Regions from separate parts of the Homo sapiens genome. Here all the other regions are linked to region 5. The links are contacts of gene promoters, found by promoter capture Hi-C in blood cells and fetal thymus (Javierre and others, 2016). All regions are on one chromosome and are shown on one strand. Each heading gives the region's core, a stretch centred on a gene start or on the middle of the fragment in contact. The rest is flanking DNA. Distances are from core to core; before and after follow the strand shown.

Evidence for each region. Contacts are between HindIII fragments. The CHiCAGO score rates a contact against its expected background, and 5 or more counts as called.
Region 1: a fragment that was not itself captured here is called in contact with the fragment with the promoter of CCDC91 in region 5 in 1 of 17 cell types (endothelial precursors); the score reaches 5.6 in endothelial precursors.
Region 2: a fragment that was not itself captured here is called in contact with the fragment with the promoter of CCDC91 in region 5 in 1 of 17 cell types (erythroblasts); the score reaches 5.8 in erythroblasts.
Region 3: a contact is called between a fragment that was not itself captured here and the fragment with the promoter of CCDC91 in region 5, in 1 of 17 cell types (endothelial precursors). The highest score is 9.0, in endothelial precursors.
Region 4: a contact is called between a fragment that was not itself captured here and the fragment with the promoter of CCDC91 in region 5, in 2 of 17 cell types (naive CD8 T cells and fetal thymus). The highest score is 5.6, in naive CD8 T cells.
Region 6: a fragment that was not itself captured here is called in contact with the fragment with the promoter of CCDC91 in region 5 in 4 of 17 cell types (non-activated CD4 T cells, total CD8 T cells, naive CD8 T cells and 1 more); the score reaches 6.8 in non-activated CD4 T cells.
Region 7: a contact is called between a fragment that was not itself captured here and the fragment with the promoter of CCDC91 in region 5, in 1 of 17 cell types (endothelial precursors). The highest score is 6.7, in endothelial precursors.

Annotation. Positions count from the first base shown.
Region 1 is chr12:29,004,300-29,008,358 of GRCh38, reverse strand. No RefSeq gene overlaps it. Among named protein-coding and RNA genes, the nearest start is that of FAR2, 140 kb to the left of the region's middle. The HindIII fragment of the contact is 1,379 bases long and covers 983-2,361 here.
Region 2 is chr12:29,163,269-29,167,480 of GRCh38, reverse strand. The region is part of intron 1 of FAR2 (fatty acyl-CoA reductase 2); the gene reads right to left. Among named protein-coding and RNA genes, the nearest start is that of FAR2, 16 kb to the right of the region's middle. The HindIII fragment of the contact is 1,765 bases long and covers 1,536-3,300 here.
Region 3 is chr12:28,987,813-28,991,943 of GRCh38, reverse strand. No RefSeq gene overlaps it. Among named protein-coding and RNA genes, the nearest start is that of FAR2, 160 kb to the left of the region's middle. The HindIII fragment of the contact is 3,267 bases long and covers 257-3,523 here.
Region 4 is chr12:29,101,810-29,105,991 of GRCh38, reverse strand. No RefSeq gene overlaps it. Among named protein-coding and RNA genes, the nearest start is that of FAR2, 45 kb to the left of the region's middle. The HindIII fragment of the contact is 3,674 bases long and covers 842-4,182 here.
Region 5 is chr12:28,188,768-28,192,436 of GRCh38, reverse strand. CCDC91 (coiled-coil domain containing 91) reads right to left here and starts at 1,981. Exons shown (of 13, transcript NM_018318.5): 1 at 1,796-1,981. It overlaps LOC729291 (a long non-coding RNA gene), which reads left to right and starts at 1,699. Exons shown (of 1, transcript NR_148936.1): 1 at 1,699-3,669. RefSeq lists silencers at 527-821, 1,505-1,934, 1,965-2,014. The HindIII fragment of the contact is 1,439 bases long and covers 1,181-2,619 here.
Region 6 is chr12:27,240,714-27,244,539 of GRCh38, reverse strand. It overlaps STK38L (serine/threonine kinase 38 like), which reads right to left and starts at 254. Exons shown (of 14, transcript NM_015000.4): 1 at 208-254. RefSeq lists a silencer at 186-425 and an enhancer at 1,484-1,543. The HindIII fragment of the contact is 786 bases long and covers 1,449-2,234 here.
Region 7 is chr12:28,971,715-28,975,703 of GRCh38, reverse strand. No RefSeq gene overlaps it. Among named protein-coding and RNA genes, the nearest start is that of FAR2, 180 kb to the left of the region's middle. The HindIII fragment of the contact is 7,454 bases long and covers 1-3,989 here.

The DNA of each region.
Region 1 (4,059 bases), core at 423-2,922, 820 kb before region 5:
TTGTTTGTTTCTTGATCATACTAGCTAGAGGCTTATATTTGACAGTTTTTCAGAAAAAGAGAACCTAAAGGATATACACATATGGGTAAATCACAAAGTTAATCATATGTTTCCTTAATATAGTTTTATTGCCTAAATAATCTGTAGTGTTGTCAACTCTCTTATTACAAATACAGTAATATGTTTTTTTCTCTTGTTATGGCCAAAATTGTACCTCCTCACCCCCAATTTGTATGTTGAAGCCCTAACTCCCAATGTAACCGTATTCAGAGATAGGGCCAAGAAGTCACACAATCTGCCATCAGCAAGCTAGAGACCCAGTAAAGCCAGTGGTGTAATTCAGTCCAAGTTTGAAGACCTGAGAACCAGGGAAGCCACTGGTATAAAATCCCAGCCTAAGCACAGAAGATGAGATGAGATGTCCCAGCTCAAGCAGTGAGGCAGGAAAAAATAAGTCAGTTCCTTCTTCTTCCACTTTTTGTTATATACAGACCTTTAACAGATTGGATGATGCTCCCTCACATTGGGGAGGACAATCTACTTTACTGAGTCCACTGATTTAAATGCAAATCTCATCCTGAAACATTCTTACAGACATACCCAGAATAATGTTTTATCTGGGCACCCCATGGCCCAGTCAGTTTGATGCATAAAATTAATTATTACAACATTTATCAATTTAATTGATCCCCAAACAGATTTTGTTTTCATTACATTTTTCTATTGTTTTTCTGTTTTCTATCCCACTTACCTCTGTCTGCTTTTACTGTTATTTTTTCTTTTAATTATTTCATGTTTAATTTTTTTTCCCAAAGTTTCTTAAGGTAGAGGTGAAATTATTGAATTAAAACTTGGGGTTCATTTTTGAGATAGGATCCTGTGTCTATGGGTTTGTTACCCATTTTCATTTCAGACGCTGTATTTTTCATCATTAGAGATAGATTTTTGGTATTATATTCTCCAGGTCTCTAGTTAACAAGCTTAGTACTTCCTCTACCTGCTTGAACTTTTGGAGTAGAGTTATAAGTATCCTTGTTATCCTTGTCCACTATTTTATCATCTGTCTGATTTCTGAGACTCTGCATGATTGATTTTAGTCCTCATTATGGGTTGCATTTTCTTCTTTGCATGTCTGCTATTTATAAAACAGATTTATTTTGTAGGGCATCTTCAAATTACGGAAAATTTGTCCAGATAATACGGAGAGCTCCCATATGATCCCTCTCCCTCAGCACAGTTATTTCTATTACTAACTTCTTGCTTTAGTGTGGCACATTTGTTACAATTGATGAACCAATATCAATACATGATTGTTCACTGAAGTTCATACTTTACATTATTGTTCATCTTAGTGTTGTATAGTTTGACAAATGCATAATGTCATGCAGCCACCATTACAGTATCATGTAGAATGGTTTCATTGGCTTAAAAATGTCCTGTGCTTTACATATTTACCTCTCCCTCCTCCCTTGGAGGCCTGGAAATCAGGGATCTTTTTACTCCTTCCATTGTTTTGCCTTTTCCAGAATGTCATGTAATTGGAATCATAAAACTGTGTAAGATTTTCCCTCTGGTTTTTAGGTAATTCTTTCCCCAGCTTGGGCAGTTTCTTCACATGCATATCATGCTCAGTACTCAGCTGAAGAAATGAGGGTGGGATTCTGTTGCTTTGGGGGACTTCTTGTCTGTGCAGGCCTCTCCTTTCTGACTCTTTGCCTGAATACTCTAGCCTCTTGGACATTTCCAAAGTCACAAATCTTGTCTGTTCTACTTTGGGAGATAACTGGGCAATTCCTGCATTTTCCTTCCCTGTGCAGAGGCCTGGAAACCTTTGCTGGGGTAATCATGGGGATCATCTAATTTTGTATCCATTCTCTTGGAGATCACTGCACTGTTTGATGTCTAATGTCTGAAAACTATTGTTCATTATATTTTATCTTTTTTAAAAGGCAGTTTTTTAGGTGGGAGGGTAAATATAGTCCTAGTTTCTACATCTCTGTGAAAATGAAAATCATGTTAATTTTTAATAGAGAAAAGATTCTTCAATTTTAGATAATTAAACATTATTTGGAGGGAGGGCTTTTAACTCCTGGTCTCTACTTCATAGAGATCTACTTAATCAGGCTGTCTGGCAAAATTTGGGTATTGGCATTTTTACATGACTTCCTGAAGTCCTGGTGCAGATTGTCAAAGTATTAAAATTTAAGAAACACCTATATCTTAGTCTGTTTGTGTTGCTATAAAGGAATGCCCAAGGCTGGATAATTAATAAAGAAATGAGGTTTATTTGTCTCGTGGTTCTGCAGGATGTACAAGAAGCATGGCGCCAACACCTACTTCTGACAAGGGCCTCAGGAAGCTTCCACTCAGGGGGGCAGCCAAGGGGAGCCAGCATGTGTAGATCACATGGTGAGATAGGAAGCAAGACGGGGAGGAAGTAGCCAGGTTCTTTTTAACAATCAAGTCTCAGGGGAACTCTCACAGGAAATAATAGAGCGAGAACTCACTCACTACCACGAGGATGGCACCAAGCCGTTCATGAGGCATCGGCCTCCATGACCCAAACACTTTCCATTAGGCACCCCCACTCCAACATTGAGGATAAAATTTCAATATGAGGTTTGGAGGGGCAAATATCCAAATTATAACAACAAAGACAAGTAACTTAAAAGGAAGTTGGACTGAAAAATCAGAATCCCTTTGTGGAAGCTTTTATATAAATAATGAGAAACTATTTTAGGTTTTCATAACGTCCAAGAGAAGTTTTATAAGACTATTCTGTCAGCTTTTCAAATTAAGGCCAATATTACCCAAGTGTATACTCTTTAGCCGTAGATGAAAAGAAACCCCTAGGAACAAATGAAAGTTTAAATGAAACTGCTCATTTAAATTAAGAATGTTAGTGGCACTTTGATTACATGTGTTGCTCAATCAAAATGGAAGGCTATTTTTTTTTAGCTTCATTTAAAAAACTGCCAGGACAATATAGCTGCCTTTAATTACACTCTTCTTTTGATGGGCTTTTATATATTTAATTCTACTTCTCTATTACCAGTGCTTAAAAGAAGAAAAAAGCTTTAAAACCTTTCTGATGAAAGACAGCTAAGATAAAAGATTTCATCAACAATCAACTATAAAAATTATTAACATGAGCCCATTCAGTTATGAAATAATGAAAATACATAGATCACAGTTTGTTTCATGGCTCATGTCAGTGAGTGAATACATTGCACAGACAGGAATATTAAGAAACTCAGACAGAGGCTCTGATAACACTCATTAATTAAATGAAAGGTCTCTGCTTCAACTCGGTTGCTCGACATTTTCCTCTCCTCTGTCAGCATGTTTGTTTCAAAATAACTTTTCACAGACTTGATAGATTCTGACAAAACTTGGAACACTCCAAGATTTACCCATAATCTCAAGTCTGAATTCTCATTCAATCGTGAAACAAAAATTGTTTCTGTTTTATTTACAGAATGGAGAAAACCATCACCATAAGATATTACTATGAAGTTATGTAGTTTTGTAGAAAACAGAGATAAAGATGCTGTAATAATTTCAAGTCTATAATTTGTGGCATCAGCAGTATTTCAAACAACACCGCAATTTTTCTTCTGCCCAAATGAATATGGTCTTTCATCTTGCTCATGCAGCTCATCTGTATACCACCAATCAGTTTGCTAGACCCTTGATAACTTTTTAAGAAGACTGACCAAGTGTGTTAAACTTCCCGGAGGTATCAAATTTAATCTGAGTTGAATCTGTGGCTCACTCCATTTTTTTATTTAAAATTGTAATCAATATAATTTGTCAAAGCTTGTCATTTATACTTTCAAATACATTTTTGTTAAATTTGATATATGATCAGAGTGACTAGATTATAAATGAATTTATCAAGAAAAAAGCTGAATCTGCAAATATTAACAATTATATATACATTGGCCCTAGGCAAAAAATCACCACTAATGAACATCATGAAACAATTTATTATTACTCAAAAGACTTCTGTGAGGCAGATTAAAGCCTTGGCATCATAGAAGGTCAGAATCAAAAGAA
Region 2 (4,212 bases), core at 1,169-3,668, 970 kb before region 5:
AAGTGGAAGTAAGCCTCTGGAGAAGTTCAGAGGGAATAAAATTTGTAGAAAAACGTAGGTCAGACTTGAATAGGGGAATGTCATGTCATCCTCTAAAAAGAAGGAAAAGAGGGAGGTTGGAGCAGAACCAGAGACAGATCTTTGGTTATTTTTCTTTTCTCTGTGGAGTGTGAGGCAAGATCATATAATGTTAATTTAAAAGTTGCAAGTAAAGGAAAAAGCTCCTGGAAAGGGGTAAATATTTATAACAACTCCTTCAGATAGAATAGAAAACACACCAGAAACCAGCAAAGAAGCTGAAAGCAGCAGAGTATCCAATGGGGATAGCGATGGATTTGTACCATCTCCATTTCATACACATACTTACCTGGTTTTTCTCCAGCAACGCCTGACTGCTGGTGGTTGGAGCAGGAAAAATCGATTATTGGCAAGATCCAAATTGGGAGTAACAAATAAAAAGGGTAGGAATAGAAGCAGTTGGCAAGGGTACTCTTAAAGTAATTGACCTAGGCTACACAGAGAAGGAAGCAAGATCCAGAGGAAGCTCATTGACTATGAGAAAGTGCATATGTTTATCTGTATCAGGGGCAGGGATCGTGGGGAGTTTAAAGAATGAAAGTCCTGCTGAACTGGAACCATAGCTATAGGGGGAGAAAGAAACTAAGAGAGCTGGAAGTAAAGAAGGTCACTGTCCAAGAGTGAACTGTCAGATTTAGAGATTTCAGATATAGCTGTCTGGAGCAATGTCAAAGCCTGAGGACTTGCCTTGGAAGTAGGTTTCTAAAAATCGGGTGCTTTAGTGCTTAAAATGAAAACTGATGAAAGTGTGAGGTCAAAGCATCAGAGTGCTGAATGTTCATCCACATGGACTTCAATGTTAAGAATACTCTCAGAAGTAGGAAAGGAGAGGACATATGTGAGCCACATATTTGATAAATATCAGGGAATAATCTGGAGGTGACGGGCAACAGCAACAAGGACTGACAGAAGCTATGGAAATTGCCAAAGAGGAGAGGCTTTCCTTTTGGTCAGAAAGCAGAGATCTGCATTATCAACATGGAAAGATAAGACAACACTTGGTCCACCTCACAAGGTTACTCAGGGACTCACATAAAATAATGGACATAATAAGTCCTCCAAGGAGTGTTAAATGTAATTTAAATGAAAATTACTATTATCATGTATAAAATTATGTATAGATATAGATATTAAAGTCTGTACACACACACACAAAAGACCTTATCAGTCTTAGATACTGTCAATACCATTTACTATTAATATATCAGCAACTCTTATAATTTACATCTTAGACTTTATATTAACAATTCTCAAAGCATTTCATGCACATATTTCAGTATCTTCTCACAAAAACCTTGGGAGATAAATAGTGTAGATGTTGTTATTCACAGATGAGGAAACTGAGGATCAGAGACAAGTAGTGATTTGGCTAAGGCCGCTGTTAGTGACAGAGCCAAGACTGAAATTTTGATGAAAGAAATTTACAACTTCTAACTGCTATAGGACAGGAGAAAGCTTTTTACCAGGTGTTTATTTGCTTCCTGTTTTTCCTATACAACAACATCTAGGACATTTGGACACCTGATAACTCTGTTCTATATTTTTTTTCTTAATTACCATGTATTAGAATATTAGAACTCTGTGAACTTAAATGTATTGAATTTGCAAGGAAACTCTAACCTCAACAGCTAATTTCCTCTTCAAGGCTCCAAATGTTTACCTATTTGGTACAACTGCTTTCCAAACTGTCCTTGATAACAAAGACACTCTGTTCTTGAAAAATTTGATCATCGAAAAAGAAGAAAATCATTTTTCATTGATTTTCAGGCAAATATGATGCTACTTTTAATAGAAATGTGTCTACTACATTCAAACAAAATGGGAATATTTCAACACCCAAAGCATTCTTTAGGTTAGTTCTCAAAGGAGATTTTTGAGTTGGAACTCTCTCCTAACCAAAATTATGCTTTCAATAATAACTATATTTTTATGTTAATTGCTTGCTTAATGATTACATTTTAAACTTTGTGGGCCTAATTTTCCTCGTCTGTGATCCCTGGGATTGATGCGACAAACTTTTTGTAAAGTGTCTTGCACTTGTGAAACATTCAGTAATTAGTAAGGGTGATTTTAATCAGCCATAATTTGTAATTCTGAATTTCATCCTTAGAGTATTTCCTTCTTTTGTGTAAAATGTATCACTAGGGTGACACCAACAAGAGAAAATAAACTATTGCAAACTTGAATGGTTGCAAACTTGAAACCACAGCCTAACGTAGGAGAGGTTTACATACTAATTACTTAAAATGTGAAGCAGATAGGGAATCATCTCCTTAAGCAAGATACAAATACCTGAAAACAAAGAGAAAATATTCAGCAACTTCAGCTACATTAATAGTAAGAACTTCTGTGCTTCAAAAACACACAAAAAAGGAAGTGAAAAGACAATTCACAAACTGGAACATATATTATAAACCAACAGTATGAGTCATCGTTAATCTGTTTATGACACCAGGCAACAGCAAGTAAATAGTTCTGTAAGGAACTCCACTCATACTGCTTTTACTGCTAGGGTGTCCAGCTTGCTACTGTGTCCCTGTGATTTAAAAGACACAGGAAAGATACATCTTTAGTTTAGTTTTGTTTTTCCTGCTTCTTTAACATCTCTCTGCATCTTGGTTCATGCACAATTGGAGACTCATCACACGAACAGTCTAAGACTCGTCAAAGTCATGCAACTAGAACAGGGTTCTTCAGTAGCCTCTGTGTCTGTCCTACTCCTCAGTTCATGGCTCAGAGCTGGAGCTCCCTTCACTCTCCCCTCCGTTCTTCCCTCTTCTTAGCCTTAGATATGCCCTTCTCCTTTTCCCGTCTCTGCAGGGCCAGCCGGGGTGTCCAGAATACCAAGGGCCTTCAGATGTTGGATGACCAGTATGTCACCAATATCACACCCTGTGAGGGAGATGGAAACTAGGCCTGCTGGTACCAAGAGTTGGGCTAGGGAGGGAGTGAGGGTGGAGGACAAAAGAACAGGGAGAGGAAGCTAGCTCATCCGAGAACTTTGATGCTAAATTTCCTTTTGGAGCAGAAGCCAATTCCTGTCTAGATGCAGGCATGAGAAACAAGCAAAATGGCAGCAGCCGCGTCGGCAAAAGTAAACCCAGCTGTATTCCTAGGGACTAACTGCCTCATCAAGGCCTCGTGCCTGCATAAGTGAAGAATGGGAAAGAGACCTAAATAGGTGTACTATGCAATTCCTGATTGTTCTTCCTAAATGAAGCTTGGTGCAATCGATTTTGAAAAAGCTAAATGGCCTTAATAATAAGGGAAACACTTCCATAGTACTGTATTACGTGTTGAGCTCTGTCCTAAGCAGGTAACACACACGAACTCATTTACTTCTCAGTACAGCCCCTTAGAGGGTATCTATTATTAGGTCAAACCATATGAAATTGCCAACACTCAACCATTTTGACCTACAAAGGGCAATTGTGCATGGTTCAATCTGCATTTCACCTGCATTTTACAGATGAAGAAAGCCAAATGCAGAACATTCAAGTAACTTGCTAGTAAGTGACAAACCCTGATCTAGGCAATAGGGCTCCTGTTTCTGTGGCCGTGATTAACTGTGGAAATATCTGCCTCTCTACCACACTGAAATAAAATGATGGAAATGGTTTCTTCCAACCTAAAAATTCTATCCACGAATCTGTCTCCCAGTCTCCACACACCTATCTCTTCTTGACTTGCCTGTTTCTTTTGAAATGATATCACTGCTCACTCAGTCACTCAGCTGGAAATCTAAGAATGGATTTTGATTTCTTTATTTCTCTACCACCAGAATTCAAATCATATTTATTAAGTCTATCTCAGCAGAAGCTGCAGAATCATAGGACATGAGAGTGGAAAGGAACTTTAAAGATAATCTAGTCGTTTATCTGATGTAGACATAGAGCACAATCAGGACAATAGTCTGAACTCCTGGGTTCTGGTCACTGCTCTTCTCTGTCTACTACAGTTGTCACAATGGACAAATGCTGTGGATAATACCTCTTTGCTTCTCCAGAACTTCGGGACCAACTGTAATGCTGTAACTCTCACATATGACAATAGCTTGACTCACTAAACACATACTCAGTGTCAATCACTCTTCTAACGGAAGAATGAATTAGCAGATCAACTCTATGGTGGTTA
Region 3 (4,131 bases), core at 641-3,140, 800 kb before region 5:
AGGGAAAAAGGAGAGACAGCATGTCTAGTTTCATCAGAGAATCTTGGTGCCCACTGGATGGGTGAATTGTAAAGAGGAGGCCTTCTTTTATGATAGGGGTTGTATCAAAAAGCTAATTGTCTCACTATCAAAGGCCCAGCAGAAACAGGAGGGAGCATTTAAGATATTTGAAGTGCTGTGAGTGTACAATGAATGGTTTGCACGTAGGTATTGCTTTAAAGTAGAAGAAAGTGGTCTGCCAAATTGTGCTTAAGCTTCAAAATGCTGCTGAAGTCCTATATCCCTGTAAGGCTATTTTGACTTTAAGGAAAGGCTTGTGGTAAGTTTTGTTTCTATGGATATAAAGCAATTAGATTAAACAGCAATTGAAAACTATTTAGTGAAAAAGATACCAAAAGGTATTTCTTTTTCATTTTACACTAAATTGTGCATTGTTGTTTCAATTAGCAACTAGAGAACATTGTGTATTTATGGTTATGCTTATTTTTAATAAAAAGTTTATTTTATTTTTAGAAAAACAGCACTGATTGGACCGGATACCATAATGTGAGACCCAGTTATACTGCCTGAGGAAAACCTTCCTGGGTGATTTTTACAGTTGTGTGTAAAATACCATAATTCTGCTGGAGGCACCCATTTGAGTTTCAGATAGAATTTCTAAGATGCCTTAAAAACAACAAAGTGCAGTGTGTTGATTATTGTCCTACTTTACAACTTTTTAAAGGAAGAGTTGGTCTGCTTGACATAGGCTGAAAACAGGGATCGGAAATGCACTTCAGCATTCACCTTTCTCTTCCCAATTATATGCCTTCCTTCTCTCCCATTAGATTTTGCTCCCTCTGCTCCTTTTAGGAATGGCTAGAGGACAGTGCTTCAACAACTCACCCAGGCCTCATGCTAAAATGCAGATTGTGAGCCTATAAGTCTAAGGTGGAGCTCAAGATTCTACATTTCTAACAAGTTTCCAATTGAGGTCCATGCTTCTGGTCCAGAGATGATCACACTATGAATAAATAGCAAGTAGAGTCTGATCAACCTCTGTGTGTGTGTGCGTGTGTGCGTGTGTGTGTGGTTAGTGATGTACTACTTGCCTAATTTTTCCTTTTTTCTTAAATATTCAAATGTAAAAGCTCAAATTAAATAACAAAACAAAAGAAAAAACTCATTTCTCACTTTTAATCCATAAACATCCACTTGATTAAGTCAGTCAATCCAAGCAGCTATAAAGAAGAGGATCTGAAGGGAATTAGAGTTCAATTCTCATTGCCATTGATCAATGGGTAATTGTGCTTTCACCTCTATTTAATAAATCGTGCTAAGAAAGTAACAGATCTAGCAGAGATACCAAGGGCATTTGCAGCACAGAACCGGGATGCTTTGCTGATATTTTTCTTCGGATCCCATCATTAATTGTGTTAGCTTTCACTTTCTCAGATCTTCCAAACATATCTCTCAGTAAATTAGGCATTGGGATAGATGACCATCTTTGTAATCAGAGGCTATCATGTCCTGACTCTATTCTCACATAAGAGTTATATTGCCTTAGTGCTACCCAATAACCCAATAAGCAATGAGTTCACTCTCATCCAATTATGTGAGGACTTTTTATGCCAAGCAAATTCAGGGATTCAGGTAAAGGATGAGTTATACTTTTCTGTGGGGGGGATGGTGAGGGGAAATAGTCTCACTCTGACACCCAGGCTAGAGTGCAGTGGTGCCATCTCGGCTCACTGCAACCTCTGCTTACCAGGTTCAAGCAATTCTCGTGTCTCAGCCTCCCCAGTAACTGGGATTACAAGAGTGTGCCACCACGCCCAGCTCATTTTTTTTTTTTTTTTTTGTATATTTAGTAGCGACAGGGTTTTGCCATGTTGTCCAGGCTGATCTGGAATCCCTGATCTCAGGCAATCTGCCTACCTTGGCCTCCCAAAGTGCTGGGATTACAGGCGTGAGCCACCGTGCCTGGCTGTGGTTCAGCTTCTCTTAATTTGTTCAAAGATGACCTGAGAATACGTCTACTCAATTTTTCTATCGTCACCTTTTTTCTCTTATTCTCAATTTTCTGTCCTTTTTTATTGTTAATAAAAACAAGTGAGAGCAATAAAAAATCTGTGCAGGCAAATTTATTATTGTATCAACTGTTGTTGAGGGAGGAGACAAGCAGACCATATGCTGTACCTGATGACTCAGGACTAGAGCAATTGAGGCCCGGAGCAGGTAAATTTCCCCTGAAATTCCTAAGGCTTGCTGTATACTGGTACTTTACTAAATATCTTCTGACAAACGGTCAAAGGACAGTAAGGCCATAGAAATGGGGCAAAGGGAGAGAATACAAAGATGGATGAAGTGCTTGACATTGGGGGAGGATTGGAGGCGAGTCCTCAGGGAGGACTGGGGCAATTTGTCAACAGGAAAAGATGGCTCAGAGAATAGAAAAGGAAACAGGGACAAGTAAGAAGAAGGAAGAATTACAACTTGTCCCCTAAATAAAGCTGAATCTAGATATACGATTTTGGACAAAGATTAATTAGCTAAAGAGATAAGTCTCTATTGCTACTGAGGCCACAGTGAAACAACGAATTTTCCGGTACGAAAAGAGTTTGACCAAGAGTTTCTTAAGTGCTCATGGGGTATAAAAGAGAAAAGTGTTTCTTAAAGGCAGTACACAGGTGACTTGCTGGGGGCCTGGAAAGGAAGGGAGAGTGAGAGAGAAAGTGGTAGTGAGTGTGCTGCTTTTTGGAAGCCAGTTTCTGCCCAAAGTTTCTGCAAGAATTCAGACTCATAAAGGGCATCCTACTTTCTAAACTTACTGTTTGCTTTCCAGCATCTCACTCCATAAATGACACTAACGTAACCGAGCTCCAAAAGCTGAAGCATAAAAGGAAAGTCCATTCTTTTAAAATTCCAAGTCCTCCTCCCAGGGTCAGGTTGAGGGCATCTTGGCAAATCAGAAAAAGGGGGGAGTCATTTTTCCACAGGCTTTGCTTAAAATAAATAGTTATTTTAAGTTCTTTTATAAGTTGGAGAAATAGAAAACACCTTAGGGGCAATATGCTCTTATTTTGTAGGAGAGTGAGGGAGGTAACGTGCCCCTGGTTACATAGCTAATGAGTGATTTGATAGGAACTTGGTTATTATCCATTTTTTAAAACTCCCAGCATAGTATTCATTTTCATTTGCTTTAAAGTCATGCATCAGTTTTCTTTCAGTAATGTTTTTCATGGAGTATAGAATGAAGGCTTCTTTCAAACAAGAACAGGATTAAAGACAGAAGATGGATGTAAAAGATGTTTCCATATGTTGATGATGTTCTTCCAATAGTGATGATTTTAGGGTATACTCAGGGACCTCTAGTATATTTCAGCACTCCAACTGGCTGACTGTTCTGCCTCAGAGATTAATTAGGAAGTGATGGAGAAAGAACCACGGCATTAGTTTTGGCATATTTCCTCATCACTCAAACCCTCTGCATGTATCATGACATTCCCCTTGGTCATATCTGACTTCAGAAAAGATATAAGCTTGTGTGCTTTTTTTTTAAAACCCGTTTGGATTTTCATTCTCAGCCAGTTTGCCTGTAAAAGCCTCTGTGGGAATTACTCCTGATTAGGACAACATCCATTAGGGAAGAACTGATAAATTACAGAAATACTGTCCTCTGCACAGAGCAATGAGGCCCTTGGGACCCCAGTTAATGCTCCAGATTTGTGGTCACTTTGCTGTTTCCCCACAAGCAGATTTCAGCAGCAGATACAGTCTAAAGCCTCAAAAGTCAGCGCTAGAAAGTCAACGACAACTTGCCTGTCAGTATTCTGAGCTTAAACCTGCTTTGGCATGGGGTGGAGAAGATGACCTCATAGGTCTTTTTAATCTCCAATTTCTATGAACCATTGTTCTTGGGAATAGATGATTTAATAGGTTTGCCCATTCTGCTGTTCCTTCTGTTTGTTATATTTCACTTGGTTACCCTGGGAAGAACAAATACATTATGTAAGTTCAGAGATACTCAGAGGTCAAAATCTGCAAAGGGCAGAGTTTGAAGCAATGCGGTGGAGAAAGAGAGAGAATGGTGGTGAATAGGGAACCTGAGCTTACAAGTGCTTCCTAGATGTTTCCAGAGCAAAGTTTGAG
Region 4 (4,182 bases), core at 1,429-3,928, 910 kb before region 5:
ATCTGCCTACCTTGGCCTCCCAAAGTGCTGGGATTACAGGCATGAGCCGCCCCACCAGGCCATAATAGCTAACTCTTAAATGATACTTGCTATGTGCTGCAATATTATAAATGCTTTTCATATATTTGCTCATTTAATTCTCATAACAGTCTTATGAAGGAGGCAATACTACTATCCCCACTTTACAGCTGAAATGATTTTAAAAATTAGCTGGAGAACATTGCATTTAGGAAAAAATAATTCAAAATTGATGGCAGTGGAGAATGGTTGTAGTATCTTAACTTGAAATTATGTTTGTGTATGTGTGTGTGTGTGTGTGAATTTGTGTGTAAATGTGATCAAAACTGCATTTATACACCCATGGTTTTGAAATACTTGATCTCTTGGAAAATGATGTAACAATTTTTCTTATTCCATGAATGAGATATATAGAGGCGTATAATCTAAAAGAGCAGTTCATTTTAAAATCAATATACTCAGAATATACTTAAATACCGGGCTATTAAATTCTTTTTTCCATGGATGTTTCACATCTGGAACTTCCTGTAACAAAATAGAAATGCTTACTAAACAATCTAGCCCTCTTTTGCTTATACATTAGATCTTTGGCATGAGATCAGGGAAGATCTGGGTGTGAGGCTTCAGACTTCAGATCTTGAGGATGGCTGAGATTGTGTGGTCCTATTGCCCTTTCTATTATTTTACACTTTGTGATTTTTCCCCCTCTTGAAGGTTGATTTTTTTTATTTCTTGACAGATAAAGAAGAAGATAAGTAAACACTTCAGTTCTAAGAATTACTTTTATTTAACATAAATCAGGAGTTACTCATGTTAACAAGCTTAGAAGGTTATTTAGCAGGTTCCTTGGCAACAAACCTTTCAATGCATTTTAAAGTAATATCATAAATTCCATACTTGCTTGTTGAATGAATGAATTGAAATTGAAGTCAGGTAGGTTAATGTCAATAGGCATAATTTGGCCTCAACATCTACAAAGAGCTTAAAACAGCAGGGTTTTATTTTAAAAATTGCTTTCCTGTCTTTTAAGTAACCACAACAGTTCTATTATGGGCAGCCTTCTACCTGAGGAAACTGACACACTGAAGCAAGTGACTTAGTGAGACCAAAAAATAAATGAACAGTGTGAGGTCTGCAAAAGGGGAGACAGTGGCATTAGATCACACTTCATTGTAAAAATAATTGGAGGGAGAAATAATTCTGTATCTTACAAGACATGACTGTTTTGTTCTTTACCAGACTACTTCGAATTGAAACAGGAAGCCTGTTGTATTGAGATCTATGTCTTGGCAACTATGAGCAAAGCCATGGGTGTGAAATAAAACATGGGCATTTTCAATTCACATTTTTCTTAAAAAGTCATGATGCAATTGAAGGTTTTTAGTAACACTGATTCACTGCCTCGATCAACATGTTTCCTAACTCCTGGTTCTATTTTGAGACTAGATGGAACATTAATACACTTAACACGATTCTTTTAGGATCTGTCCCACCTACAGCAAACTGTTCAGGAGCTGAAAACACAAAAGAACCTTGGTAATGTCTCAGGAATTGCAGACCTCAAACTAGGCTCAGGTGAGAAGTGGAGCCACTGCGCTTCCCTCTTTCTACTCCTTGGTTTTCTTGGTAGCAAACCAAAAGCACCTAAAGTGATACATGGTAATGGAGAACCATCCAAAGGTAGGGCTAATAACTCGATCATTCTCCTAGCTCTCAGCACTGGCCTTCTTTCTTCATCATCCAAGATCTATACATAGTTAAAAGTGAGTGAGGTCTATCCTGCCTTTGAAGAACCCATAGTCTAGTGGGAGATGCTGACATTAGTATTATTACTGTAATATAGTGTCATAAATAAAATTCTAGGGGATATTCTGCTAGTGCAGAGGGGAAAGCATCAACCAATGAAGTGTAGAGGGCAAGGGAATGTTTGGTAAGAGAAGGATTCTTGGAGACAAATAGGAAATGTTTCCCTGATGGAAAGAGGCTTTGGTGTAGTGTGGGGAAGAACCATGCATGCAGAAAACAATAGCTTGTGTGATTCAGAAACAAGGTAAAAGACTGTGGAGTGTGTGTGAGGAGGCACAAGATGTTCCCTATGGTGACAATGTAAATGTGGGAAGGGGGAACTGAGGGATGTGAAGCAGGGGCCTGCACAGAGAGGCTCTTGGATGCTGTGCTAAGGATCTTAGATCTTATTCTGTAGAACATGGAGAAGCCTCGAAATGTGTGAGGCAGGAAATGACATGAGTAGGTTTCATTTTCGATAAACCGCAGTGGTAGCTGTGCATGGGATAAACTTGAGAGGAACAACCCTGAAAGCAAGAAACCGGTTAGAAATTTGGAGATATTGGTGATAATCACTGAGTTTCAGTTTCAATTTCATAACACTCATAAGAAAATATTGCAATGAGACAGCGTAAGGCATGGGGTTTGAAGCCAGAGGGCCTGGGTTTGAATTTGCCTGTGTTACTCCAGGCAAATCATTAAAGTCCAAGACTCATGTGTAGAGTCTTCCTTCATGTGTAGAATGGGAATAAAAATAAAGCTGTCTTATCAGTTAGTATGAAAATTAACAAGATGATCAATGCAAATTGCATAGCACAGTGCTTGGTATTATATAGCCCTTGATAAATATTAACCACTATCATCACATAATAAACAGCAAAATAAAGAAATGTAGTAAGAAATATCAATGAAATTTCTGAAAAATATAACCACTCATTCCAATCTAATACTGTAAAAAAATGATCGTTTTTATTCCAGCAAGGACTCAGGAAAAAAACCTATCAAAATGAAAACAGCAAAGGGAACTTAGTTGTTTTCTGCAAAAGAAATCCTGCCCTTGTTGACATGTACCCTGGTTTCCAAAATGCAAAGTTGTATAGTTTTCATGACCTTGTGTTAAGTTACACATAGGGAAAATGCAAAGTAGGTATCATTATTTCTGCAGTGTGTTAACTGATGATAAAAAATATTTGATGTAGTCAGTAGCTACAGATCCTATCAGTACTTGAAAGGCTTCACTGCCCAGAGTTGATGAATAAAACCGCAGTTCTTTTTGGCTGGCTTCATAAGATCTCACAGTATCTTTCCTTGACTGGCTGATGACAATGGAATGAAGTACAGGTGTGAGTTTCATTGTATTCAACCTATTTTTAACGTATTTAGTAGTTTTCTTTTTCTATCATTTTGATGTATTTAAATTTTGTAATTTTATTTGTTTGTTTTATATTTAAAAATTGATTTATTTGCAAATGTTTCAAAATATGGGAGTTTAAAACAACATTTAAAAACCCCCTCCACTTTACTACTCTATATTCTTCTACCCAACCTAGTGGTCTGTCCTAACCTTGAAGATGAGACCTGAGCAATTATAGGCTTCTTGATAGAATCAATCCCTTAGTCATTCTAAAGATGACTACGATTACAGGGCAAATTTTACCAGGAAGCACTTCTATTATTATTATGAAGATAACAGTTCTCTTTATCTTTAGCTCATCTGCAGTCTATTTGTAAACTATGCATTTAGCCAAAAGCACATAAAAATTGTTTCAAGGGAAAATACTCATTTTTATAAGCTAGTAGACTAAAACGATTTAAATCCATAGAAGAAGTAGAAAATAACTAGTCAGAAAAGACTTTTTATTTTTTGTGGGGAATTTTTGGATATCACGACAAATATAGTAGAAAACACTATTTTTTTTAATGAAGTGCCAAACACCAAACTATAAAACTCCCAGCAGACAGCAGAAAAACAGGTAGATTAACTACGGTTTGGCCATGAATTCTTAGATACTGCATGAAAAACACAATCCATTAAAGAAGAAATTAGTATACTAGATTTTTTAAATTAAAAACTGCTTTACATAGATAATGTTAAGAGAATAAAGCAAGCCACAGACTGGGGGAAAACCTTTGAAAAATACACATCTAGAAGAACTGGTATTCAAAATATGCAAAGAATTCTTAAAACTCAAAGGTAAGAAAGCAAACAACCCAATTAAAAATAAGCAAAATATCTCAACAGACAATCAAAGAAGATATCAAATGGCAAATGAGAAAATGCTCAGTATCATATGTCAGTAGGGATTTAAATTAAAACAACAACGAGATGCCACTATATAACTATTAGAATGGCAGATATCCAAAATACTGACAACACTA
Region 5 (3,669 bases), core at 732-3,231:
CAGTTTGGGAACAACTTATCTAAAACATTCCCCTTCCATTTTACTTAATGGAACCAGTCTTATCCACCCATCCACTCTACTCCACTCCCACTCCGTCTTCTACTATCTTCATTCATAACAATCATATGTAATGCATACATCTGACACATATAGATAAGAGTACAACATAAAATGCCTATTACACCAAATTCCTGTTTGTCCATTTAAGCTCCAGACAAGCTCATTTTTAAACGTCTTTTTTCTCTATTTTAATGCCACCCAAAACCAAAGTGATGTCCCTCTGGAATGATTTTCTGCAGTTTCTTTTGTGTGTTATTAAGTACTAAGATGATCAAAATAAACAAAAATGTCTCAGAAGTTTTGAGTGGATCACTCCAATAAGAAGCTACATTTTTCCATTTAATAAAAGTTAAGAGGTAAGTTGTAACTTTCATCACTTTGTTTTCTTTATGTTTATTCCATTGGGCTTATACTGTTGCTAGGAAACCAGTTCATAAGATTTCCCAGCCCACAGAACACCCTCCTAGGCAGCCTGGAGGATACCAAACTTCGTAACCAGGGCAATTCTCTACCACACAGTTTACTGGTTAGCCAACACCATGCAGGTGCACTCTGCCTGGCATGACCCTTACTACATTTACCTAATAGGTACAGACAGTATAACCAATCCCCTCAACGCAATAGAAATTGTAGCAGAGGGCAATCAGGTGATCATTAAGTGTAGAACTCTCCGACAGCAGGGAACACAACAGCGAATTTGTTGTCAGTCCCTGTCACCCCACCCAACTAAATATTGTGGGGGGGGGAAGGGTTGCCTTAAATTGTGAAGTAAAATGTCAGCCCACTCCAATAACTCCACCACGCAACATGCAAACTGCTTCCAAAAACCATCATCCAACTCCCACCCGGATTAATATTTGGAGAGAAAGGTGGCATCAGTATCCGCACAGCTGAGAGGGGAGGGAAGGAAAGAGTCAGAATTCATAAGGGGCCGCTGAGTCACCTAAAATTGTGGCCAAGACTTTACCCTCCAGGAAATCGAGCTCTGCCCCAACTCTCATCAAGGAAGCAAGTGAGAGTAGCAGCAGCAACATCATCCTACCAAAAAAACACCAGCGCAGCTTTTAATAGAGTTCCACTCCTTAAAGTGAAGCCAAAAATAGGTTTCATGTCCAAAGCTTTCCTCCGCAGTAGGCGACACGCGCAGATGGAGAAAATATCTTTATTGTTGGGAAAGGGAGGCGTGCTAACGGGGACGAAGGATACCTCACCACTTGGCAAAGTTACTGGCTCCTGCCTTGACCCTGAAATGCCACTTTTATTGCAACATGTGGCCCAAGAAACTCTAAGGAAATGTGGCTGGCAGACGCTGTAGAGCTTTTACCCCAATGTACTTGGCAAAGTAAAAGGGGATACATAAACCAGGCGCGTTCTGTGTAATCTAAGCAAGAATCAAGGTCTCCGTTCGGTAGGCGCTTCGGTGACACAATAATCACGTGTTCGTGGGCGTAGACTTTCGAAAACACTCGATTCTGGGACGTGCAGATACCGGTACCCACCGGCGAGCGCAGGAACGAGTGGGCACTCCCACCCCCGGGAGCTGGCTCCGTTCCCGCAGGAGGTTGGTCACGCCCCCTGACTCCTGGTCGCTGCGACAGCCAAGGGCGAGGCCGCAGCAGGCGGGCTGCAGGCGGCGGAAGCTCGTCCGCGCTCCTCCCCCGGTGGGGCGCTCTCCGCTCGCCTCGCGCGGCCCCGACCCCAAGACCCAGGCCCCGGAAGGCGAGCGTTCACTTACCTGCTCCCCTCTCTCGCTCTCCGCTGCCGCCGCTGCGCCGCTCACCCACGCTGCCCGGTGAGCCACCCCCAGCACACAGACCCCTACGCGTACACCCGAGGCACGGCCCCAGGCCCTTGAGGGGAGACCGCGGCCCAGCCACACAGGTTGGGGTAGCCCACGCACCACCCGGCTTCGAACACCTCTGCCCCCGGAAGTTGATTTCCGCCAAGGCCCGCCCAACACAGCGCCCGTCACTCAACGTAAACACGCGCGTCACGTGGCCCCAGGCCGAGGCCCGGGTCGGGGCCCCATGTTCAGAGCCCTGCCACCCCAGCTTGAGCGTGGTCTTTGGAGCGTTGCCCTGTGAAAAGGGGTGACTTTGCCATGCTCCTTCCCAGTCTACCTCCTGTTAGTTACAGTTTCTCATTCCTCTTGAGTAGCAGGCCCTGTTTCTCCACCTAATCCCTGCAAGTAAACCGTCCCCCAAATCAAAATGAGTTCCATCTGGAACTTTGTAGGATTGGTCCTAAGAAGATCCCGCCGAATCTCTTCACCACTTCCTAGCAGAGCACAGTAAAACCGGGGACTAAGCAAAGTGGCTGACATGTAGTAAGTGCTCAAGAAATGGATGTTGACTAGATGCTACCTCTCATCTTTGCCTGTCTGAACTCTCAAGCACCGGATGCAAGTAGACTGAGAGCCTCCGCCAACCAGTAAGATGACTTTGGTCAAAGAATTCTGCTCTAGAGTTACTTTTGTTCTTGTCTTCAACTCCAGATCACAGCAATTCATACGTGCCATCTCTGTTGCAGAGTTTTCTTGCAAAGCCTTTCTTAAAAGCTTTCTGTCAAATAGCTTGTCCTGAAGCAATAGGAAAAGAATAGCGTAATTCACAGATTATTTATTTGAAAGGAAGGAATGATTATATAGATGTCTTTGTCCATTTCAGACTGTCAATAGCGATGAGAGAAACAGTCAACTAGCAGTCCACTCGTGAATGTTTCTTCTGTTTTTGCCATGGAAGGATTTTGAAGAACATTCATTCAACAAATTTTTATTGATTGTATACCACATACCTAGTCCTGGGCCAAGTTTTGACAATTCAAGAGTGAGCAAGGTAACACTCAAGATATTTGTCTTCAAGAAGCTTACAGTCTAGTGAGAAAGAAAGACACTAACCTGGGGACTTTGAGCATAAATCTCTGGAATATTCACATTCCTTGTATAACAAGTATTCTTTCATCCTTGGACACTGGGTTTCTCATCTGTTGAACAAAATTGGCTTAAACCTGTAATCTCTGTTCTGTACTGGAAGTGGAAAATATTAGCAAGGCATCCTGACAAGTCTGCCATAAGTGCTGGCCTAAGTAGTTAATGAGCAGTTTCAGTATTGAGCAAGTCACCTTGACTACATTCTTTTTCCAGCCCACCCCCTTCTTTATGCATACAAAAAACATTTCTATTGTAAGAAATGTAATGCTTTCTTACACATATTTTTTTATCTGTCTACTAGACTACCAAGTCAAGGACCACTTCTCACTTGTATATCCAGCAATCTACTCACTTCTCATTTGTCTTTGTGTATCCAGCAGTCTAGCAAAGTGTCTAGTAGTTAGAAAAAAGGTATTCATAAATATTTCTTAAACTTAGTAAGGTTACCTTTATATTATTTTGTCTCTCATATCTCTTTCTGCTGGAAACCAGATTAGTTTCTGGGAGTTCCTTCCCATTGATGTACTTACATGTTCACTCTGTCCCGATATTCAATACTAAACTGTATTCCATACTAAACAGATTTATAATAAGTAACTAATATTTATTATTAATATTTGCTATGTGCCTGGCATTAGATTAAATATTTTAAATCCCATATATAACTTACCACAATAATT
Region 6 (3,826 bases), core at 592-3,091, 950 kb after region 5:
GGACACATGGGGCCAGTATCACCCCGGGGAATAAGAGGGCCAAGGCCGTCGCCGCAGGTTCCCCGGAGACATTTCCAGCCCCAGAATTAGCCCGGCTTTCCCTGGACACCCAAAGACACCTAAAATCTCCTCCTGCTCCTGCTCGCAGAGTTGGGGCTGGCGCGGCGAGCTCGGGCCCTCAGCCGAGCGCTACATCCGCGAACTCACCTGCCTCCGGTCGCGCCCGCGGCCGGCTCAGCCTCCGCACGGACCGCAGCCGGCCGGGCGCCCGTCAGCTCCCTTCTCCCCGCTCCGCCCTCGCCCCGCCCCCGGGAGGTGGGACCCGCGGCCTCGCCGGAATCTCAGGGCGGCCTCCCTGAACTCTCGCGAGCCTTGCCTCCTCGGCTTCTCGGTGGCTGGGTCGGTCCGACTCGCCCTGACGTCATACGCACCACAGCCGGAAGTAGCCTTCTGTCGTCAACGCCCGTCTTCCCGGCCCCACCCATCTCCGCCTGGTGAAGGCCAGACTGGTTTTGAGGGAGTTGACTGAACTGTCGCCACTTCCCCTCTCACCAGCCTCACCTCACTGCCGTTTTTACGCCAAACCTGTTCAGGCCTCTCTTGAGAGTGGCCTAATGTGTTGCGACATTAGTCACATTCTAAATGTCATCCGAATTTTTCAAACAGTGCAATGCAAAGAATGTTAGAAATGGAAAGAGAGAATTCACGCATTTTTCAGATTGGGAAACAGTTGTCAACAAAGATGGATCAGCTAAGTTGCTCAGTCGGTAGCTGTGGGGACTCGAAGCCACCCAGGTTCCTTGACGCTTCCATTTCACCATGAGGGGACTCCAGAGACTGGAGAGGAACCAGGATTTGTAAATGCCACAAAAAATACATTAAAAACCTGTTTGAGTTTTCTTGGAAAATCTAAAATAACTACAGTACTGGCCTGCTTTATCAGTAGGATCTGAGAATTGTGCAGAAGAGCACTCCCCTATAGGATGACCCAAAAGGGACAACTTTGGGAAGGTTGATGCAATTTGCGTCTGGGGACAAAACTGGCCTTTGGGAAAGCCAAATGAGAGAATGACTCCCAATTATTGTTGGCAAGTTTATCCTCAATATGAGTATTGGAGGTCTTATAAAATATTCTTAGCTTTTAGCTTACTGAGACAACGTATGAAGCTGGTACTGTGCTTGCAAAAACTATCACTTAGAAATGCCACCTGTCATCTTTAGGTTTCCCAAGAGCAGGTGACACGAGCAAAACACCTAGGAAAGAAGCATTACCTCATTTCTCTTTCTTACACTGTGCTTTTTCATACATAGCTTAGTAGTGGGAAAAGCTCTAGTTTGGTAATTAGTGTATTTTTGGGGAGATCAGCTCCACTTATATGGTCATTTTGAAACTCAAATGACAGTTGTCATATACAAGCATAGGAGGTTTAATTGTGATCAGACAAGCTTGACAGGCCTATACACCCTTCTCCCTGTACTGCACGCATACACATACCATTCAAATGCTACGATAAGATTGAGAACAGTGTATGGTTTGTTCCACAGCAAATTTATGTCTTCAAATGTGCCATACTAGAGTAATATGAACTAGTATAGAGTAGCAGTCTAGGTTAATATGGGATAGCCTAAGACTTTGACCTCTAGTTCCTAAATTCTCCTAAATTGAGACCATTGTAAACAAATTTCCCTGGGAAGTTGTTGAAAGTACCTCAACTGAAACAAATTAGAGCTATGAACCAGAATTTTGGTGGTCTATGGACCCCTTTTCAAAACAGTGTTCTTAAATGCATAAACTACCTAGGGTTACAAAGGAAATTGATAATGTTAACATACAGTTACCAAAATACTAAAAAGTGAGTTTGTAATATAATTATGTGGTAAGTAGTAGTAGCATCTAAGATGGCTGCCAATGATCCACGCCTTCTAGTATTCCTGCCTTCTGTAATTCCCTTCTCTAGTAACTTAGTTCTTAAAAAGGAAATATAGCAAAAGTGATTAGGATATCATTTCCGTGATTAGGTTACAAAAATATTCTGGGCTCCATCTTGCTTGTCCTTGCTCTCTCACTTGCTCGCTTTCATGGAAGCCAGCTGCTGTCTTGTGACCTGCCTTACAGAGAAGCCCACATGGCAAGGAACTGAGAGAGATCCAGTCAACAGCCACCAAGGAATTCAGGCCCCCAGTCCAACAACCTGTGATGAACTGAATACTGCCAATAATCATGTAAGTAAGCTTGGAAGTAGATTCTTTCCCAGTTGAGCCTTGAGATGACTGCAGCCCCACCTGACACCTAGACTGCAGCCTTGTAAAACCAGATACTGAGCCAGCAGGCCCAACTAGCCAAGCCCAGATTTCTGGCCCACAGAAACTGTGAGACAATAAATATTTGTGGTTTTAAGCCACTAACTTTTGGGATACTATGTTACACTGCCATAGATAACTAAAATAGTTATATATTTGCCTCTTTATTAATGCATTAAATAATAAGATCAAGACCTACAGTAATTTTGTAGTAATGATACACAGAAACAATATTTTGAGATATCTACAACAACTTTAATGGGGTAGAAAATATGTGTGATTCCTATTGAGGAAAAGTCACAGGTATTGCTAATATTCCTGTGGTTTGCTGCCTACATTCATGATGGAAGAAATGCTAATTTTCAGTTTGAGTTTAGTGAAAAAATTACATAATATGTAATATATATAACTATATAACTATACATAGTCATATATGTAATATATAACTATATGACTATACATAGTCATATATGTAATATATATAACTATATGACTATACATAGTCATATATGTAATATATATAACTATACATAGTCATATATGTAATATATATAACTATACAGAGTCATATATGTAATATATATAACTATACAGAGTCATATATGTAATATATATAACTATACAGAGTCATATATGTAATATATATAACTATACAGAGTCATATATGTAATATATAACTATACAGAGTCATATATGTAATATATATAACTATACAGAGTCATATATGTAATATATATAACTATACAGAGTCATATATGTAATATATATAACTATACAGAGTCATATATGTAATATATATAACTATACAGAGTCATATATGTAATATATATAACTATACAGAGTCATATATGTAATATATATAACTATACAGAGTCATATATGTAATATATATAACTATACAGAGTCATATATGTAATATATAACTATACAGAGTCATATATGTAATATATATAACTATACAGAGTCATATATGTAATATATATAACTATACAGAGTCATATATGTAATATATATAACTATACAGAGTCATATATGTAATATATATAACTATACAGAGTCATATATGTAATATATATAACTATACAGAGTCATATATGTAATATATATAACTATACAGAGTCATATATGTAATATATATAACTATACAGAGTCATATATGTAATATATATAACTATACAGAGTCATATATGTAATATATATAACTATACATAGTCATATATGTAATATATATAACTATACAGTCATATATGTAATATATATAACTATACATAGTCATATATGTAATATATATAACTATACATAGTCATATATGTAATATATATAACTATACATAGTCATATATGTAATATATATAACTATACAACTATACATAGTGATATATGTAATATATATAACTATACAACTATACATAGTGATATATGTAATATATATAACTATACAACTATACATAGTCATATATGTAATATATATAACTATACAACTATACATAGTCATATATGTAATATATATAACTATACAACTATAC
Region 7 (3,989 bases), core at 1,304-3,803, 780 kb before region 5:
AGAAGGAGAAGAAAAGAGGGAGGAATATACAGAGAAAAAGTCACAGAGAGAAAGAGGCAAAAGTGAGTACAGCAAGGAAATGCAATGCAGCCTATGCCTATGGAAGAAGAAGCAGGGATTTAAATATTTGCTCCCTTCTTAGAAGTTAGTGACATGTCAATTAATTTTTCCCATTTATAAGAAGAAGGGAAAATCCTAAGTATTATGTGGGGTTTTCTGTTTGTTCATTTTGAGGATATGTCCTTATATAATTACCATTATATAAGCATTAACCTTTATTTTGGGTGTTCTTTTAAGGCCCAAATAATAAAACTGTCCAATTCTTAGTGGATTTATGATGTCATACGGACATAATTAGAGCTGGATTTCACACAGTGCAAAAAAACTGGAGTCTTCTTTCTTACATCAAAAATGTAAAACAAAAGAAAGAAAACATTAAAAATGTAAGAGAAACCTGGAGTTAAATGTTAACTGAAGTCACCAGCTAATAAACTTGGTCAAGAAATGAGTAGATATTTCTTCTCTTTTTCTAGCCTTATTATGCATTTACTAAAATGACAGTTAGAAGTCTCTATGTTCCTTGACCCTTCCTTTTATGCTGAAGCATATCTTGATGATGCAATATTGATATGATAAATCAACTATGGAATTCAATTTGTTGTTGCGAAAAATCAGAGTGGTAGGTACTTCAAGCTAGGCAAGTGGACTGTTTCCAGAAGTATGTACAGTAAAAGAAATGAAGAGACTAGGTAAAAACCAGGGAAGGCATAATTCTCAGGCTGATTAGAGGCTACAGGTCAAGCTGACACTGTCAACTGTCATGGCCTAACCTTGTTTCATTCTGGTTTTAGTGTTCAAGAAGCGTTACTTGTTTATTTCTTCATTCGCTCCAAGCTACTCACCCCACTGAAATTGGATTAAGTTAAAACTGTGGGGTTTCTCTTGGAGGCCTCAAAAAACTATGCCCCACAGCTTTTCATCAGTGTCTCAACTGTGTCTGCCAACAGTGAAGGTCTCTCAGGGAGAAACATGTCATCAAAAATTGCAAGTTCTCAGTCACACCTTTTGATGAAAAAAAAAAAAAAAAAGTTTCTCCTCCCCACCCCACCCCACCCCGGCCTCTGCTCTTACAGGGAACTCCTTAAATAAAACAAACAAGCTCTACACCTCTCCAGGGTCACTCTTAACCTTGTCAAGACTGTTTTTTCCCCAGTAACCTGGTGGTCTTGGCAAAACTTCATGCAGGTTCCCATGCTACACATCCAGAGATTGTGGGGTTTGGTGGTTACAGGGAATGAGCCAGAGAGTCTTGCATTTTAGTCTTGCCGAGCAACTCAACTCTCTGACCTTGCAGATGAGTCATTTGGATACCATTGACTGAAAGGGAGAATTGGGGGCAAATATAGGAATCTCTGAAATCCAGATGCTGTTTGTGAGTTATGTCTTCCCAGATCAAATAAACAAGCTCAAAAAGCAGTCACCCTGGCCACCATGGAAAAATATTATGTGCCCCAGATACTTCTGTGGCTGGTGGGTGGCTAAATTAGGTTCTTGTTTTGTCTAAAGGCATTTGAGTATATGTAAAAAATTATACAGCAAAAATCTGGTGTCTTGAATCTCTCTAATCATGAACACTACTAGTCTTAAAATAAGTCATTGACAAAGCATAAACATAAATTAAAATACAATTTACCAGTAAAACACATTGCTTGCCTATTGCAGAAAAGCTAAAAGCACCGAGTTAAAACATTTAGATGTCCTAGATCGTTACTTACAGTTATGCTATTCTGGAATCACATGGAAACCATTATTAACTGTTGTAACGAAAACCTGAAGACCCACAGGTTTCTCAGAACAAAGCTATATATGACTTGACATTTCTTGTATGACATCCAATCTTGCTGAGAGAAAGAAAAAAAGTTTCACTAAGATCCAATTTCCATCAAGAGGGTAGCCAACATTTAAATTCTTTATCTAGTTATGGTATGCTTCAGAGCATTCATTGGTTTTGGGTGTTTACTTCTCTCCATCTGTAAAGTTCTAGAATAGATGGTCTGGAATTCCTGCTTCTTTCGTTTTTATCCTTTCAACCAAACACCCAAGGAATGCAATGAGCCACTCCATCTGGCACCTCATACCTTTTCACATGATGGAAGAAAACTTCTGAGTTACCCAAATTTTGCCCTTTTTCTCCTCCTTCCCATCTCCTCTTTTATTATCTGGGGTGCTCCTTGGTTAAAAAATGTTTTGCTGTTCCTTGGATGCCAGAAAGGGTGTTCTCTACTTTTCTTCAGCTATCTAGGGTCTTCTCTTGAGGCCTTTGAGCAACCAGCCAATTAATGAACTGCTACCTTAGCAATTATATTAATGGAAGAAGGTTTGATGGAAAAGTAAAACAATCAAAAAGATTTGGGAGGTAGAAACTTTTGGGTCCACACTAAACTTTGAGAGGTTATTTTCTCTTCTCTAGACCCTGCTTTCTTCATTGGTAAAATGATGGGGTTGGATAAGATGCTCAGACCTTTCTAAGCCCACAATTTAATAATTTAATAATTTTTTCCCTTTTCACATAATTTATGTGCATTATAAGAGTGGCTCTTTGGAAATCTTTCTTTAGAGTGTTGCCTCTTTTTGACTTAAATTTTCTAAGATGAGAATTTTGGGATATACAGGAGCTAAGAGTAATCCATGGCAGAGATTTCTGGATTGGTAGGGCCATTTAAAGTTCCATAAACCAGGTAATAAAATAACAAGTTAACATTTATTAAGCACTTTATGTGTATGAAAATCATCATGTTATTTTAATGCGTGTTAACTAATTTCATCTTTGGTATAACAGGTAAATATGATTATCATTGTTTTACACATAAGAAATATGACGAATAGAGAGGCTGCCCACAATGTGTTGCCCCAGGGTACACAGCTGGTAAGTGACACAGCTGAGATGTGAGCCCAGGCAGTCTGGCCAGGAAGCCATGATCTTTAAAAATGAATGCTATGCTGAGGAGGTTCTTACACAGGATTCATACTTTTTGCTGGCCTTGCCTACATAATTTTACAAACCTCATTTTAGAACCAGCTTCTTCATCCATAGACTCCACAACATCACCATTGGCCCTAAAATTCCAGCACAAACTATGGTCTCATTGATCACTTTAATAAAAGCAAGCAAACCCTCCATCCAGTTTTCTATCATTCTGTGTGCACAACTAACAACTTAGCTATGAAAATCTACTTATCACCCAAGGTTGAAAGCCCCAAGTCCTCGATTTAACGTCTTGCCCTGCATTTTTTCCTAAACTTATAACCACTTTCCCTGGTATATCTGCCAGGCTGAAACTCTACCTTCTTCATGGCCATTTCTGATTAAAGTTGGTAGCTCTCTTATCTATTCATTTAAAAATAGTTCTTAATGATTTACCATGAACTCAATATCATGCTAAGACATAGGATAACCATGTAAAGTAGGAAATACAGTCCTTGAGCTGATTTGAGTTTAAAGTCAAGACTGAAAAAATGCCCAAGAAGTTATTACAACAAAAAATAACCAACTCCCCGTGTGCTAGGGATACAATAAAATTAAATTATATAAACTCTTCAGATTAAAATGTATGTATTTTTCAAAAAAGCAAGTGTAAAAATGATATTTCTAATTCCAATTTTTTACATTCCTATAATTTTGTATTTTTTTATAGAACAAGTAATCCTAAACTTAGAGACATGATAATATACATATCCATGTGTGTACCAATGCTAAGGAAAAATAATTACTGTTACCCATATCTTGATAATAGAAAAATGGCAGTTCTAATCTTCCCCTGTCTTGCATGCTGTCCTTCACTACCTTGCCTTGATTGACATCTCTGATGCACCTGCACTGTACCACAGGCCAGATGTGCACTGATTAATTCATCCTGTAACTTCTGTAAACTTCCATAAATTTCTTACTCCGGGATCTTTTAGGCTGAAAATAATATCAAAATACTTTA